6 separate regions of the Homo sapiens genome follow, and regions 1, 2, 4, 5 and 6 are each linked to region 3. The links are contacts of gene promoters, found by promoter capture Hi-C in blood cells and fetal thymus (Javierre and others, 2016). All regions are on one chromosome and are shown on one strand. The core of a region is centred on a gene start or on the middle of the fragment in contact, and the rest is flanking DNA. Distances in the headings are between cores, read along the strand shown.

Region 1 (2,863 bases), core at 320-2,819, 550 kb after region 3:
TTGAGCAAGCCCTAAAGTCCCCTGCTCCCTGGACTTCTCCTGGGTTGTGCTTTTTTGGGGGCAACATACCTTGGACAAAGCTGAGCTGACAGCTAATGTTTATTAGCCTCCTACCTAAGTCAGTCACTTTGCTAAATTCTTCACCTGTGGTAACTCATTTTGATTGTTATAACATCTCAGCACCGTTATTCCCATTTTAATGATGAGGAAACTGAGTCATAGAGGATACAGACTTGCCCAAAGGAGAGCCAGGATTTTCACACCCCCTCCTCAAGCTGGGCCTGCCCTCCAAGTGCTTGTTATATACCTCCACGGGTGTCAGCCCAGATGACTCCTCACCCATCCACCACCTGCAGCTTGAGATGTTAACTATTAGAGCTCCATTCTTTTGGTTCAAAACGTTGATACTTACTTAGATGTTCCCTGAGAGGAGTGTTTATTTCTGAGTAAGGGGCTTTGTTGAAAGAGGGGGTTAGAGAGAGCAAGACAGCACTTGAGTGCACTGGCAGGAAGCAGAGATAAGACTTGAATTTCAGTTTGGTAGACCACCTTCTTTAGCAGCCCAACCTGTAGCAAATCTAGTTTAGCCTGCATGGCAGGGAGAGGGATTCTCTTCCCACCCTCACCATTTGCAAGTGGCAGGAGCTGAGAATGCCAGTACGAGAGTGTAGCCAAAGTGAGAGGCTGAGAGCAAAGGAGACATTTTTTTCAGTTTTGAGTCGAGTATCCAGACAGAGGCAAATCATTTTGTTTAACTTTTTATTAAAGTGTAACTATAGAAACACATCAATGATTTTTCACAAGTGGAGCACGTGCATACAATCGGCACCCCAGAAGCCCCCCGTCAGATTCCCTTCCAGTTAACTACCTCTCCAAGGGAAACCACTATCCTGAGTTCTAAGCGCATAGATTAGTTCTGTCTGGTTTGGGGAGATATATAAATGGAATTATGCATTCTTCGTATCTGGTTTCTTTTCACCAATATTATGTTTGTGAGATTTTTGTTGCATGTATTTGTACATGGATTTTCATTCTCATGGTTGTATAATATTTCATTGTGTGAATAAACCACATACTGTTTATCTGACAGCTGTTTGGTTCATTTACCATTTGGAAACTAGTACTGATCCAGATATTCTAGTACATGAATTTTGGTGCACATAGGTACATACTTCTGCTTAGGAATGTGCTACAATTTGAATGTTTGTCCTTCTAGATCTTATGTTGAAATTTGATCCCCAGTGTTGGAGGTAGGGCCTAATGGGAGGTGTTTGGGTCGGGGGGCGGGTCCCTGATGGATAGATTAATGCCTTGCGGTGGTGGGAGTGTGAGTTCTTGCTCAGTTAGTTCCCAAGGACAAGTTAATTGTTGTTGCCGATTAACAACAATGACACCTGGTTGTTTAAAAGAGCCTGGCACTTCCCCCATTTTTTGCTTTCTCTCGCCATGTGATCTCTACAACCAGCTCTCCTTTGCCTTCCACCATGAGTGGAGGCAGCCTGAGGCCCTCATCAGAAGCAAATGTTGCAGGATCTCACTGGGCCTTTGTCTTCTATGCCTACATGTCCACTGCTCGGTTACTCTCTACTGCTCCTTTGCCTTTGCTCTGTCACCCTGTTACCTGCAAGTGTTGGGAGATGTGTAGGGAAGATACCAGTACACTCCAGAACCAGGAAGTGGAAACAGGAATACCAGAACATTGAAGATCAGTACAATAATGCTTGGAGAAATCTAAGAGAGTTGGGGAGGGAGCTAAGATGGCTGACTAGATGGGGCCAGGAAGAGCATCTCTCACCAAGAGACCAGACCATCAAGAAAACTGGCACACTCTGAGCAGACCTTTGGAAGGAAGGTGTTGAGAGTGGACAGAGGGAAAATACAGACACTGGGCTCAAGGGGAAGGAAGCTGGGAACCCTGCCCAGGGCAGGTGAGCACTAGGATTTGTTCCTGGTCCCCAGTGGCTCCTGGGTAAGGGGTGAGTTAAATAGGCGAGTGACCCACTCTCACCATGGACCTCCAGAATCCTAACTGCAGGAAACCCCACAACCCCTACGGACATTTAAGCTGACGGAGAGTTGTTCGGAGCAGTGGCGGGGAAAGGACTCCAGCCTTTGCAGAACCCAGAGGGTTTGGCACGGGAATGGCTACAGCAGAGTGCAACCAAGGACACCCATCCCCTAGGGCTCACCACACTCCTCTGGGTGACTTTGGCTTTGTCAACTGTCAGACCTGGACAGAGCAGGGTGGTCTTGCCCTTGGGACAAGGCCAGTCTACCTGAGTGCCCCTGCTCCTCTAATCTGCTGACCTCTCTGGGGGTCCCTTCCTGGCCATGCCCATTTGCAGTGCAGCCACAGATGCCCAATCAGGGTGCTCCCCAGTGGCGGCCAACAAAGCTCCTTTACAGGCCAACCATACCTAACTGCTAGAGAGCTCCAGCAGACTGGCCTCTACCGGTGGGCACCCACACACCCACAGCCTCCTCCCACCACAACCTCCCTGCACCATTTGCCGGCATCCATGGGTGGTCTCACTATCCTGCTCCCACCAGTACCTGACCTCTGCTGACACACGCACACCCCACTGCACTGCCAGTTACACCACAGTCAAACCCTCAAGGGCATCAAAGAAGATAAAAGCAGGCTGGGCACAGTGGCTTACACCTATAATCCCAGCACTTTGGGAGGCCAAGGTGGGCGGATCACAAGATCAGGAGTTCGAGACCAGCCTGACCAACATGGTGAAACCCCATCTCTACTAAAAACACAAAAGTTAGCTGGGCATGGTGACGCATGCCTGTAATCCTAGCTACTCAGGAGGCTGAGGCAGGAGAATCTCTTGAACCTGGGAGGTGGAGGTTGCAG
Region 2 (2,700 bases), core at 47-2,546, 610 kb after region 3:
GAGCTCGGGAGCATTTTAATCAGTGCTCAAGAGGAAGAGAAAAGAAACAAAAAGTGCAACCAGCCAGAAAAACAACCAAGCAGCTACCCACCCAACCACCCATCCACCCACCCACTGACCCAACCAACCACTCCCCCACCCAACCACCTATCCATCCACCCACCGACCCAACCAACCAACCAACCAACCACCCACACAACCACCCATCCACCCAACCCACTGACCCAACCAACCAAACCAAGCAACCACCCACCCAACCACCCATCCACCCACCCACTGACCCAACCAACCTAGCAACCACTCACCCAACCACCCATCCATCCACCCACTGACCCAGCCAACCAACCAACCAACCAACCACCCTCCCAACCACCCATCCACCCACCCACTGACCCAACCAACCAACCAAGCAACCACCCACCCAACGACCCACCCACCCACCCACTGACCCAACCAACCAACCAAGCAACCACCCACCACCCACCCACCCACTGACCCAACCAACCAACCAAGCAACCACCCACCTACCCAACCAACCCCCACTTACCCAATCAACCAACCAAGCAACCATCCACTCACCCAACCAACCACCCACCCACCCAAGCAACCAATCAACGAACCAAGCAACCACCCACCTACCCAACCAACTACCCCCCACCCACCCAAGCAAGCGAGCAAGCGAGCAAGCAACCAAGTAACCATCTACTCACTCAACCAAGCAACCACCCACCTACCCAACCAACCAATCAACCAACCAAGCAACCACCCACCTACCCAACCAACCAATCAACCAACCAAGGAACCACCCACCTACCCAATCAACGAACCCCCCACCCAACCAGCCAAGCAACCAAGTAACCATCCACTCACCTAACCAATCAACCAATCAACCAATCAGGCAACCACCCACCTACCCAACTAACTAACCCGTAACCACCCAACCAACCAAGCAAGCAACCACCTGCTCACCCAACCAACCAATCACCAAACAAGCAACCACCCACCCACCCACTCAACCAACCAACTACCCAACCAAGCAACCACTCACCCAACCAACCATTCAACCGACCGACCGACCGACCGACCGACCCACCGACCCGACCGACCAACCAACCAACCAAGCAACCATCCAACCATTCAAGAGTGTGTTCGGGGGGATTTTCGCTCGGGGCTGACGCGGTTCTCTGGCCGCTGTGCCGTGCTGGGCCACTAGGTGGCAGCGGAGGCCGCCCGGAGCGACAGCCGGCGGTGCGGAGGCGGGCCCGGCGCGGGCAGGCAGGAGGCTTAAAGCCCCGCAGAGCCGCAGCCGCCTAGCTGGGGGAGAGGCCCGTCCGGGGCTGGCTCTGAGCGCCGCACGGCCGTCGGATCCCGGGGACGCCGGGGGCCCGGGCTGAGCGCCGCGGCCCGCGAGGAGGAGCACCGGTAAATAGCCACAACTTTCTATCTCCTTGAGATCCTGAGAATAAATGCAAAATCGCGCTTCCGCTGCATGTGGAAGTGAGCGGGGCGGCAGCTAGCTTGCCCCGTGAGTTTTTAACACAGCTCGATATGATGTTTAGTATAATTGCATAATTTACCGATATATCTGAGCTGGAACTCAGCTGTAACAAATGATTGTAGTTCAATAAATGCTTAGATTACCAATTTTTTCCTTTTTTATTTTTATAGATTTAGGGGGTACAGGTGCTGTTTTGTTATATGGATGTATTGCATAGTGGTGGAGACTGGGCTTTTAGTGTAGCCATCACCCCTATAGTGTACATTGTACCTATTAAGTAATTTGTTGTCCCTCACCCCCTCCCTCCCTCCCAAAGTGATTACAAATATTAATGATGACAGTGATGACAGAAATTCTCTCCAGATGTGATCTGAGTTTGGAGGGCAAAGGGATTTTTGAAAATGAATCATAAGAGAGAAATTTTGCAACAAAGGAGTGTGGTACATTTAAATTGCTGTTTTTTTTTTTAAATACTGTGCTCACGCGGACCTAATAAACTATCAAGCAGACCTCATGGAATTCCACATAATGCAGAAGCGAGGGAAAAATAGGTATTGAGGGAAAAGCAGCACTGTTTTCCTCAATTTTAACACGTATGTGCAGCCTACACTTACAAACTTAAGACAGTAGCTTTTAACATGTGACTTTGCTCAGGGTAACAGACCATTCTGGTTATAGCCTTACTTACAGCTGTGGAGGCTGAATCCTGATGGGTCTAAGAAGTGTCAGGACAAGTGTTAGGGATGCACCTGTCTGTCTGTCTTAAGGGAATACGGGTCTGGGCAGTCTTAAATCGGAGCTCCCTTGAGGAGAATGTCGTGCAGTAGCCTTAGGAATGTGAACATTGGGAGACTGGCTGGGATTTTGTAGGTTATGAGTTGGGGACACTTATGATAGTGAACTTGAGCCCAGGAGAGAAGCCATAAAAAGTGAAACTGTCCTGGGCACTTGGAGGTGAGTGTCTCTCTAGTAAGATGCATGTGAAAGGCTGGGAGCTGAAAGCAAGGAGAGCAGAAGAGGCTGGTGAAGATTCTAATCTGCGTGTCCAGGGGCACTCTTCCAGGTCTCAGGAACGCAGGTCAGAATGTGCAAGCCAGCTGCCGGGCACGTGGCTCACCCCTGTAGTACCAGCACTTTGGGAGGCTGAGAGAGAAGATCGCTTGTGGCCAGGAGTTTGAGACCAGACTGGGCAACATAGGGAG
Region 3 (2,700 bases), core at 1-2,500:
CCACGGCGGCCCCGGTACCCGCGGCCTGGCCGCGCGCCGGGTCCCCACCGCGGAGTGGGAAGGAGGAGGAGAGACTGGAGGAGTTGGAGACAGACACAGCCGCGGCGCGCAGTCACGGCTGGAGACAGACGGCGGCGACGGCGGCGGGAGGCGGGACACTCCCCCCTCCGGCGACTGGAGGCGGGACACCTCCCCGGCGGCCGCAGCGCCGCGTCCCCTCTCTCCCCGCGCTGAGGCTGCGGACCGGGCCCGGCGGGATTAGCAGGCGAGTGCGTTGGCCCTGCCCGCTCCGCGCGCCGCCGCGGCCGGCCGGGGATCCCCTGCAAGCCACTGAGCCGCTGCCGCCGCTGCAGCCAGACAGGCTGCGGGTGCCTGGGAAAGTGGAAGCAGGGCGGGGAGCGCGGGGGAGGCCCGGGGGTGAGGTCCTCAGCTCTTAAAGAACCCCGGCGCGCCGCGCTCCCCGCCGGCCCGCCGCGCGCCCCCTGCCGCGCCCCGCACAGCGCCCCTCCCCCTGGCCAGCAGGGCCGGTGGCCGCGGAGCCGCACTGCGGGCAGTCCCCGCCTCCGCTCCGGGGGGGCGGCCCAGGTGAGTGCGGACCCGAGGTGGCCGCAGTGGTCGGGGCTTCTGGCCCAAGTTCACCGCTGCGCTCCGGAGGGAGGGGTGGCGGGGGACTCGGGAACCGGACGCTTTGGGAACTGGACGTCCGCGAGCCTGCGCCGTCGGCTGGGGCCGGAGGGAGAAGCTGGGCGCCGAGCGCGCGAGGTCTGTGAGGCTTGGTCCGGGTGGGCTTGCCGGTGGGCACGGCGGGGATCCGGGGCTGGCCCGCGGGCGGGGTTACGCCGGTGGAGGGACTTCGCCGACCCCCACCCCGTTTTCTGTTTCCTGGTGCCCTGGGGCGCAGGGTGTCCCGCGGTTGCAAGACTGAATTCTGCACCGCCCGGAGGCCAGGATGGGCGCGCGGATGGCAGCCCCAACTGTCTCCGCGCCCCTAGGCCTCGGCGAGCCGTGGCGGGCAGGGACTGGAGGTCAGCGGGAAGCGGGAAGATCCTGCAGGACCTGACCGGGGAGTTTGCGGGAAGGAGGGGGCGGGCCAAGCCCCGCAGCCCCTCAGTCCCGCATCCTGCACCGCGCGCTCCCCGGCCCCGGCCCCTCGGGCCCGCTTCACCCGGCGTCCCCCCGGGTCCCCCCGCGCGCGTTGACGTCGGTCGCGGGACCGCCCGGAGCTCCCGGCATTGGCTGGGAAGTCGATTGTCTGGGGCTGCTGCTGTTGCACTTAGGCTGGGTCTCCGAGCCCCGGAGGAAGCAGGCGTGTGTTGAATTTCTCTCTGCCCCTCACCTTGGAATAAACAGGAAGCGACAAGCACCCAGCCCGGCCCGGCACTTGCCTTTGTGAAGGGGTCTGCCCTGCACAGCCTTTAGGAAGCTTCCTCGGGACCCCTTCCCGGTGCGCCGCCCCGGGTGGGCCTGGGGGCGCGCCCTGTGAGTACACCGGTGGAAGACAGTGGGTTCGGTTTAGGTTAAATCGCTATCGTGGCGGAGAGGGCATTTGCTTGTTTAAACTTTTTTTTTTTTTTTTTTAATTGGAAAAGGAGAAGGTTTCCCGATGAGGCAGAGGTTTTCAGGACGACAGGGACGCATGGTGGGTGGGCGGCACTGGGGGAAGGCGCATCCGAGAGTACAGCGTTCTTGGGTCACCTACCTGGAGGGACACCTCGTCGCCAGTCAGGGCAGCTAGAAGCTCTTTAAAGCAAGCAGGACTCCTTAGCTCTGCCCAGGCACAGGAATGGTTGCTGTGTGCCCATAGCCGCATGAACTAGCATGATTTTTGTTTTTCCCCCAAAATTTTTTAATTAGCTAGAATTAGATAATTTTGATTTGCTTCTTTTCTTTTCCTCTGTGTCTTGGTCTATTCCCTTCTCTTTTTCTCTTTTCTAATTATTTTGGCATCTTCTCATCCCCGGACCAGCGCTGCTTTCTAAATGTTAATTACCATTGCAATACATATTTATTGAGGGCCTACTATGTGTTAGGCATTGTAGGATGTGAGGTAAGAGTAGCTGCACAGAATGTGGGTTCTGAGCGCTAGTATTAGTAAGTTATTTGCAGTAGAGGTGGATAGAGATGGTGAGCAGCATTGACTCTCAAAAATAGGGTCCTATGGCTGGTAAGGAGGTTGGTGCCTTCTCGAAGGGCTAGTGCTGGGAAGCTTCCTTTTAAAAACGGCCCTTTCTGCCGGTTTGGCTAGCCAAGAATGGCATCCTCCTCTCTGTATCTTCCCTGGAGCTTCAGGACTGAGTATTGAATGACAGAGAAGGTTCTGCAAAGTCTGCACAGGGAGACTGCCATTGCATCAAGTCATGTCTGCATTCTGTATATGGTATTGTCTTTTCTAGTCTTTAACTCGAGTGTGTTGTCATCTGTAACTCTCCCTTTGTACTCTGCACAATTCTTCTGGAATATAGTCTTTGTGTTCAGTCAAGGATCAGAGTGTCAAATCTGAGTCATTACATAGACAAATGAGGATGTCTGAGTATTACCCATGTATATTTATTGAATTATATTTGGTTTCCCATCAACCCTTGAAATGTTATTTGATGGACCTTTCTAAGCAGTGCTTTTTAAAACAGGGGGCTAACTTCCTTATGATCTTTGAAAGCTTAATTCTTTTTAAGAGCTTCATTTTGCTATTGACATTGAACA
Region 4 (2,722 bases), core at 216-2,715, 520 kb before region 3:
TATTTAAGTGTGTATTACTAAAGAATCAACAATGAAAACAGTCAAAAAATAATATCCAGGGAAAATGAATAGCAAACAGAATATTGCAAGAAGGTGGATAGTAGTTTAAATTGAAAAGAGCAGTGGGAAACAAAATAGAGATTCCTCCATTATAAATCTCTCCTTACAGAAAAAGTCATTATTATTGTTTCACAATAAAACATAACAAAGATTTACTCAATTAAATGACAATTTATTACTGTTTCTTACCCAAGCTTTCTCTGTGTACTTCAAGTAAAAAGCCATCATGAAAATCTGGTTCACAGGCACATGGAACAGGTTTAGAACGAAAACGTTGGTTTCGATAATGTAAACATAAAGTAAACGTTGAACAAACTTGTCCAGGTAAAGGCTCAGGTTCTTGCAGATGTTCCAAGAAAGCTTTTCCACCCAAAACCTGAAGGTAAAGATACCTCCGTGTTGGATCAATATTAGCTGTAAAGTGTAGCAATATATATGAGGAAACTGCCAAATAACTTAAAAGAATGTGATCAAGACATTAGGAAATAAAAACTTGACAGATAAAAACCCAATACCAAAGACTAAAAAAAAAGCAAAAGAGTAACAAATTTATTACTGTATATGCCAGAATCATTTGCACTCTGGGGAGAAGATACACAAAATATGATATTCTTTTCTGAGTTTACATCCAGGCTACTTTCTCCCAGCTGGAAAAGGCATCAGAGCCAATATGTAGTATACTTTTGCTTTTTAACTGCTTATCCAACATTCCTCCACCTTCACAAACCAACTCATATAATTATCAATTCAGCAAGTGTATTTGTCAATTATATTAATATTTAAAAGCAAGGCTGTACAGTTTTTATAAAACATATTATTAAAACACAAGAAACTGGTGATGCTGTTTTTGCTTCTACCGTGCTATACATTAACTCTTCTGATATACTTCATGCAAAACAATCTGTTTTAGCCAACCATAAAATTTTAAGTATTTTATTTTGGGGGGAAAAAATGGAAATGTCTTCTATCAAATACGAAAGACTACACCACATCAATATTTACTATTAACCACAACTAAATTAATGTTAAAATATACATACTTTTTTTTAATGTCGATTGTCTATCAAAACAAATAGGTTGTTTTGGAGAGGAAGGGAGTTCTTGCTCAACACTGTCCTAGAAAGGCAGGAAAAAAAAATCAAAACAAATTAGAAAACAATTATAGGTTAAGGAAATGTCAATAAACATGACTAAGCACTGAACCTAAAGTCAACAGGGTAAGGCCCTTTCAAAGAACCCCTTATTTTCCTAGCCTAATTAAAATAATGAAAATAAAAGCCTGCATAAAAGATGATGTAAACTGATCACTCCTAAAATCAAATGCTAAGGAATTAAACTGTCTTCAAGTAATACTATCCACATAAAGCTAAAAACAAATCCTTAATACCTTCAACAAGGTTAAACTTTCTGTAAACCTTATGTAACAGTTGGCTTATAATTCCACTATGAGCTGATTTTAATAAAGTGTCATCACAGAGTAGAAGCTGTTATTAGGTCAATTTTTATAACAAACGGGTTCATAAACTTCAAAAACCAAAAAAAGGTGCTGTATTAAAATACTTATTCCCTATTGTATTATGAAGTCCATCCAATTTTCACATTATATTACCCAGGTATTGAGGTCACAGTTTCCATTATTGCCTCACTTTCAAATGAAGGCCTACTTACTAATTGTGCACTGAGAGACTATCATCCCATTATTGACCTATTTGTATTAAAAGATTTGAGGACTCTTATGCAGTCAATTATTTTCTTAAAGAAATTTGTAATTTGTTAATCATAGAGAATATAATCCCAAAAGAGTGCTTATTTTAAAAATACGCTTAATCTAAAAAAGTTACAGATCATAATGAAAAAGAACTTTGTTATGGTGAACTAATTGGACTAAAGTATGTATATTCAAATTTACAGACCTAGAAAATAAGAGAAAATTCTGTCACTGTAGAGACAGGAATAAGATATCTAACACAAATTTCATTGATACACAAAACTATTCAGTATATTCAAGGGCAGAGCTAGCCTATACTTGAAACAAGGACACTAGTAAACAGAATGACCTTGAAGTGGTTTTACTAAAACGAAAGGCCCCACATCGGAACCTTATAAGTAGTGTTACGCATTAGTATATACATATATACTCTCATTTATTTCCCTAAAAGATTACTCACAGTAACAAAATTAAGTTCTTTCATCACATCGTCAATGATTCCTCGACGTCTAAGGGCTTTGATCAAATCTTCTGTTGATAAATGCTGTTGATCAGGTGCCAATTCTTCCCGTATAGTCTCAGCAAGGATTTCTCTTATTCTACCATGGACATCCATCTATGTAGAAAACTCATATTACAATTTATAACATCACAAAGCAGTCAAATACTGCTTCTGAAGTTTTAAGGTTCTCCAGCTAACAGTAAATGCACAATTGTTACCACAATTGAATGGGAACAAAGGTAAGCTTTTAAAGAATGAATCTTTTGAGTACAAATTCTAGAAATAGTCTCCACTGGTTATCTGGCACCTTTGTTACCATTTCTCCACAAACAACACTCAACCAAAAGGAATCTTCTGAGAGGGAGTATAGTATAATCAGAAGAACACGGACTGGGAGTAGGCAGATCAAAGTATGATCTTATTACTTTCATACTTTGATCTGCCTAATGATA
Region 5 (2,700 bases), core at 5-2,504, 530 kb after region 3:
AATTTTATTGCATGGTAATTCTTTAGCAGGGTTCCAGTCTTTTAGACTGTGTTGTTGCTGAGACCTCTCCTGTCCTAATGCAGCAGTGAAGGTATCTATATAAGCTTCAATTACACAGCCATTGATTGTTTTTCCTTTTTCTCCTTACCAGACAATGTTTGGTTGGACAGACCTAAAATATTCAGTGAGCATTTTTATTATTGATCAGTAGAATCATATTCATCAAATGGACATTAAACTTCCTTAGAGAGTTTATTCAGTTTAAGTACTTTAAGCATACTCTGACTTCTTTATCCTTATAATTACCTCCATGAAGTAGGCAGAATGGTAACTTTTCACTAATTTTTTTCCTATTTTTTTTTTTTTGTTGTTAATGACAGGATCTCGCTCTGTTGCCCAGGCTGGAGTGCAGTGATGTGATCACAGCTCACTGAGGCCTTCACCTTCTGGAAGGTGATCCTCCCACCTGAGCCTCCTGAGTAACTGACTACAAGCGTGTGTCACCACACCTGTCTCAGTTTTAAACTTTTTGTGCTGATGAAGTTTTGCTGTGTTGCGCAGGCTGGTCTCAAACTCCTGGCCTCATCAAGCAATCCTCCCGCCTTGGCCTCCCAAAGTACTGGGATTACAGGTGTGAGCCACTGCACCTGGCCAGTTTTCACATTTTTTTAGTGGGCAGCCTGAGGCTCAGAGGATAATGACTTGCTCAAGGCATACTAACCTTTAGATTTTCTTCAGTTTTTGTAGATGATACTCAAACAGAAGTCTCCTGTTGAAGTTGCACCTGCACCCAGCCACTCCCACAATGTTGAGTGGGAGGACTTTTTATAAATTCTAAATTGTCTTTTAAGAGACATAATCAGTAAAATTTCATATTCCTCATTAGTTATATTTCCTATACTTTAGATCTAAGAATGTTTTTATTGGCTTTATATTAGGAATGGATGCTTGTTTTGTTTGTCTTAAGGAAGAGGAGAAAACTAGCAAAACTATGTGTGGATAAGTCCCCCTGTCCCACATATACAGCATATCTTTAGCATATTGCCTTTATTTGATGGTGCTTTGCATGATAGTGGTCAATTATTTAGCCTTTCTCTTAGCATATGGGTAGTGAATTCACTTGTGTAATGTATGTCAAAATCTACTTAGGTATGGTAGGGTATGGGATAACAAGAATTTTATGGCATGTTATTTCAGTGAATAATGCAGTCCATGATGGGAACTGCAGTATTGAAGCATTCCAAGTGCAGTGAGTATATAAAGGGCCTTTTGGGAAGGAAGAAGATTGGTAGAGGACAGGCAGAGAAACCAGAGTGCACAGGAGATGTTTGAGGAAGTAGTGCTAATGGCCTTCACAGTTCTTCAGCAGTCTTCCTTCTCTCCCAGTACTGCACTTGGGGATATGACCTGTTACCATGGCTGTCTGGGGACAGAAGCAGTAATAGCATGTAGTTTGAAAAATCCTTTGGTTTTCCTACTTCTTGACCAAGTCACTCTGGTGGGCGTGTAAAGGACTTGGAGCAGGAAAGGACATGACCAGATAAGAGTTAGGACACTACTTGGGTGGCATAATGGGGGATGGTTTGGAGGGACTTTGAGACCAGACCAGAGGTGGAAAGAGCAGTCGGATGCCACTGCTTTCGACCAGGTCAGAGGTTTAAATGGATCTGTTTCTTGATATTTGTCCCAAAAAGTCTTTTCCTGAAGCATCCAGCTTTTATCTGGGTTCAGCACTAGAACCAGTACAACTTTTCTGCTTTCCTGGAGCGTTGGAACAGAGAGAAGAAAGAATGAAAAGATGTAGGCCATGGAACTGTAGGTCCTGACACCTGTTTTCTTTTTTTCACCAGCAAACATATTCTAGGGACAGTTCTGGAAAAGTAACTCCTTTTAGAGGAGACACTAAGATATATATGTTTTAATAAGTTTTGGTCCCGGCATGGTGGCTCATGCCTGTAACCCCAGCACTTTGGGAGGCCAAGGCGGGCAGATAACCTGAGGTCAGGAGTTGTAGAGCAGCCTGGCCAACATGGTAAAACCCCGTCTCTACTAAAAATACAAAATTAGCCAGGTGTGGTGGTGCATACTTGTAATCCCAGCTACTCAGGAGGCTGAGGCAGGAGAATCACTTGAACCCGGGAGGTGGAGGTTGCAGTGAGCGAAGATCACGCCACTGCACTCCAGCCTGGGTGACGAAACTGAAACTCCATCTCAAAAAATAAAATCAATTTTAAAAAATAACGATGTTTTACAGCTTTATAATCATGTATTGGTTGGTCTTTCAAAATGATCAGTAGAGAAGAGAAACTGGGTGTCCAGTGATAAGCAGATAATCACATGGAGGATAAGTTGAAGAACAAGTTTACAACAAAATAGTTTGACAGGCATTCAAAAACGAAGTTCTGAAGCTTTGTGATATGGTAAAACTACAATATGTGGAATTAAAGTTCAAAAAAAACTGATTGGTAATCTGTTCTTTCTTAGAGCCCTTTGTTGGGATGTGATACAAAGTAAAGTGGTTTATGCTAATGATACAGCAGTCTCAAATAGCTGAGTACTTCTAAAACAGCAAATAAATAGGTTAATTTCTAATGCCTAAACTTGCTGCAGGATGTTTATAAAGAAAAGAGACAAAGAAGATTGCAAAGCAGATATTCATAGATCATTTTCTTAAAAGTTTATTAGGGAGTTGTACGTTTA
Region 6 (2,768 bases), core at 95-2,594, 560 kb after region 3:
GCGCATCTGTAATCCCAGGTACTCAGGAGTCTGAGGCAGGAGAATTGCTTGAACTGGGGAGGTGGAGGTTGCAGTGAGCCAAGATTGCACCACTGCACTCCAGCTGTGGGCAACAGAGCAAGACTCCATCTTGGGAAAAAGAAAAAAAGAAAGAAAGAAAGAGAGAAAGGAAGGAAGGAAGGGAGGGAGGGAGGGAGGGAAGAAAGAAAGAAAATAGGTTTGATTGTTGGAGAAGATCTCAAGAGGTAGCATTTGAGCTCAGACCCGAATAATCATATAAGGCAAGAATGCCCCAGTCTAGGAGAATAGCAAATGCAAAAGCTTAAGTCAAGAATAAGACTGCAATTTCAGAAAATGAGAGTAAGTTATTTGAGTTAATTGAGTAAAGTGATGAGTGTTATATAATGGATGCATAGAGATAGGCAGGGACCAGGTAATGTAAGACCCTGTAGGTGGTGGAAAAAGTCTGGATATTTTTCTGAAGTCAATGGAAAGCCACAAGGGGTTTATGAGATATGAATGTAATCATCCATTCTATGTTTTTGGTAACCAAAGCAGCAGGATATTGGTATAAAAATAGATACATTGACCAATGGATCAGAATGGAGAACTGAGAAATAAAGCCACATATTTACAGCCAACTCATCTTCAACAAAGCCAACAAGAACTTACATTGGGGAAAGGGCACCCTCTTCAATACGGTGCTGAGAAAATTGGAGAGCCAGTTGCAGAAGAATGGCGCTGGACCCTTATCTCTCATCATATACAAAAGTCAGCTCAAGATGGATTAAAAACTTAAATGTAATAACTGGAACTTTAAAAATACTAAAACCTAGGAAAAACTCTTTTGGACATTGGTCTACGCAAAGAATTTATGACTAAGACCTCAAAAGCACAGGCAACAAAAACAAAAATAGACAAATGGGACTTAATTAAACTAAAAAGCTTCTGCACACAAAAAGAAATAACAGAGTAAGAGACAATTTGTTGAATGGGAGAAAATATTTGCAAACTGTTCATTCAACAGAATACTAATATCCAGAATATACAAGAAACTCAACAGGAATTCCATTAAAAAGTGGGCAGAGGGGCCGGGTGCGGTGGCTTATGCCTGTAATCCCAGCACTTTGGGAGGCTGAGGCGGGTGGATCACGAGGTCAGGAGATCGAGACCATTCTGGCTAACATGGTGAAGCCCCATCTGTACTAAAAATACAAAAAATTAGCCGGGCTTGGTGGCGGGCACCTGTAGTCCCAGCTACTCAGGAGGCTGAGGCAGGAGAATCGCTTGAACCCAGGAGGCAGAGGTTGCAGTGACCTCAGATCATGTCACTGAACTCCAGCCTGGCAACAGAGCAAGACTCCATCTCAAAAAAAAAGTGGGCAAAGGATACGCATAGACATTTCTCAAAAGAAGACATACAACTGGCCACCAGGTATATGAACAAATGCTCAACATCACTATCAAAGAAATTCAAATGTCAATAAATTTTAAAGTATTAAAATCATATACAATATTTTTCTACCACAACAGAAATTTATAAAAGAAGAAAATTTGGGAAATCCACAAATATTTGGAAATTAATACACTTTTATTTTCATGGACCAAGAGAGAAATCACAAAATATATTAAGTGGAATGGAAAAAACACATCAAGACACATGGGATGCAATGATAGCAGTACTTAGAGGGAAATTTATAGCTACAAATACATATTAGAAAATACGGATGTCACATCAATAAACTAAGCTTTCACTCAGTAACTGGGAAAAAAAACTAAACTCAAGACAAGAAGAAAGAAGCAAATAATAAAGATTAGAGTGAAAAATCAATGAAATAGATAACAGAGAAGCAATAGAGAAAGTTGGTGAAATTAAAAATTAGTTTTTTAAAAAATTCAACAAAACTGACAGATCTTTAGCTAGACTGATCAAGAAAAAAAGACAAATTAGTAAAATGAGAAATGAGAGGACTTCACTATCAAATTTATAAAAATTAAGGGACTATAGTGGAATAACATGAACATATTTAGGTCAACAAATTGGACAACTTAGATGGAATAGACTAATTTCTCCAAAGATAAAAATACACTCAAAATACTAAAAATGACTCAAGAAGAATGAGAAAATCTGACTAGTAAAAAAAGGTAATCAGTGCCTTAAAATCTCACCAAAAAAGCCCAGGCCCAGATGGTTTCACTGGTGATTTCTCTCACATTTAGAGAAATAATACTAACCCTTTATAAACTCTTCCAGAATAGAAAGGAGAAGGGAACAATTCCCATCTCATTCTATGAAGATAGTATTTGCATATCAGAGGCAAAAAAAGGGCATTATTTTTTAAAAACCTACGGACAAATATTTCTTACAAATGTAGATGCACAGATCCTCAACAAATCACTAACAAGCAGAATGCGGCAGCATATACAAAGAATTGTACACCATGATCAAGTGGAATTTATTCCATAGTGCAAAGGTGACTTAATATCTGAAAAGTAATATATTGCACTGTACTAATAGAATGAAAGATAAAACCACATAATCATCTCAATAGATGAAGCATTTTTACAAAATCCAACATCCCTTCATGATGACACTCAGTAAAACTGGAATAGAAGGGAGCCTCTTTAATCTGATAAAAGCATCTACAAAAACCTACAGCTAACATTATAACTAAAGATAAAAGAAAATAAGAAACGAGGCAAGGATGCTCAATCTCATCACTCCTATTTAACATGGTACTGCAGGTTTTAGCCAGTGTAATCAAGCA

What was found. The method cuts DNA at HindIII sites, captures the fragments that hold promoters and counts their contacts. A CHiCAGO score of 5 or more calls a contact.
Region 1: a fragment that was not itself captured here is called in contact with the fragment with the promoter of LDLRAD4 in region 3 in 3 of 17 cell types (naive CD4 T cells, erythroblasts and activated CD4 T cells); the score reaches 7.2 in naive CD4 T cells.
Region 2: the fragment with the promoter of MC5R here is called in contact with the fragment with the promoter of LDLRAD4 in region 3 in 1 of 17 cell types (naive CD4 T cells); the score reaches 5.1 in naive CD4 T cells.
Region 4: a contact is called between a fragment that was not itself captured here and the fragment with the promoter of LDLRAD4 in region 3, in 1 of 17 cell types (fetal thymus). The highest score is 7.9, in fetal thymus.
Region 5: a contact is called between a fragment that was not itself captured here and the fragment with the promoter of LDLRAD4 in region 3, in 7 of 17 cell types (naive CD4 T cells, non-activated CD4 T cells, activated CD4 T cells and 4 more). The highest score is 20.7, in naive CD4 T cells.
Region 6: a fragment that was not itself captured here is called in contact with the fragment with the promoter of LDLRAD4 in region 3 in 4 of 17 cell types (endothelial precursors, activated CD4 T cells, naive CD4 T cells and 1 more); the score reaches 7.4 in endothelial precursors.

The regions. Positions count from the first base shown.
Region 1 is chr18:13,763,470-13,766,332 of GRCh38, forward strand. RNMT (RNA guanine-7 methyltransferase) reads left to right here. Exons shown (of 12, transcript NM_003799.3): 12 at 1-1,087. Among named protein-coding and RNA genes, the nearest start is that of RNMT, 38 kb to the left of the region's middle. The HindIII fragment of the contact is 4,622 bases long and covers 1-2,863 here.
Region 2 is chr18:13,822,853-13,825,552 of GRCh38, forward strand. It overlaps MC5R (melanocortin 5 receptor), which reads left to right and starts at 1,297. Exons shown (of 2, transcript NM_005913.3): 1 at 1,297-1,422. RefSeq lists silencers at 966-1,146, 1,112-1,401, 1,412-1,501. The HindIII fragment of the contact is 16,860 bases long and covers 1-2,700 here.
Region 3 is chr18:13,217,510-13,220,209 of GRCh38, forward strand. LDLRAD4 (low density lipoprotein receptor class A domain containing 4) reads left to right here and starts at 1,251. Exons shown (of 7, transcript NM_001378100.1): 1 at 1,251-1,479. RefSeq lists a silencer at 42-411. The HindIII fragment of the contact is 2,786 bases long and covers 1-1,421 here.
Region 4 is chr18:12,698,730-12,701,451 of GRCh38, forward strand. It overlaps CEP76 (centrosomal protein 76), which reads right to left. Exons shown (of 12, transcript NM_024899.4): 2 at 2,229-2,384; 3 at 1,101-1,176; 4 at 250-474. It also overlaps a transcript of PSMG2 not described here. Among named protein-coding and RNA genes, the nearest start is that of CEP76, 2.6 kb to the right of the region's middle. The HindIII fragment of the contact is 2,094 bases long and covers 419-2,512 here.
Region 5 is chr18:13,746,867-13,749,566 of GRCh38, forward strand. All of the region lies in intron 9 of RNMT (RNA guanine-7 methyltransferase), which reads left to right. Among named protein-coding and RNA genes, the nearest start is that of RNMT, 22 kb to the left of the region's middle. The HindIII fragment of the contact is 2,304 bases long and covers 103-2,406 here.
Region 6 is chr18:13,779,769-13,782,536 of GRCh38, forward strand. No RefSeq gene overlaps it. Among named protein-coding and RNA genes, the nearest start is that of MC5R, 43 kb to the right of the region's middle. The HindIII fragment of the contact is 803 bases long and covers 944-1,746 here.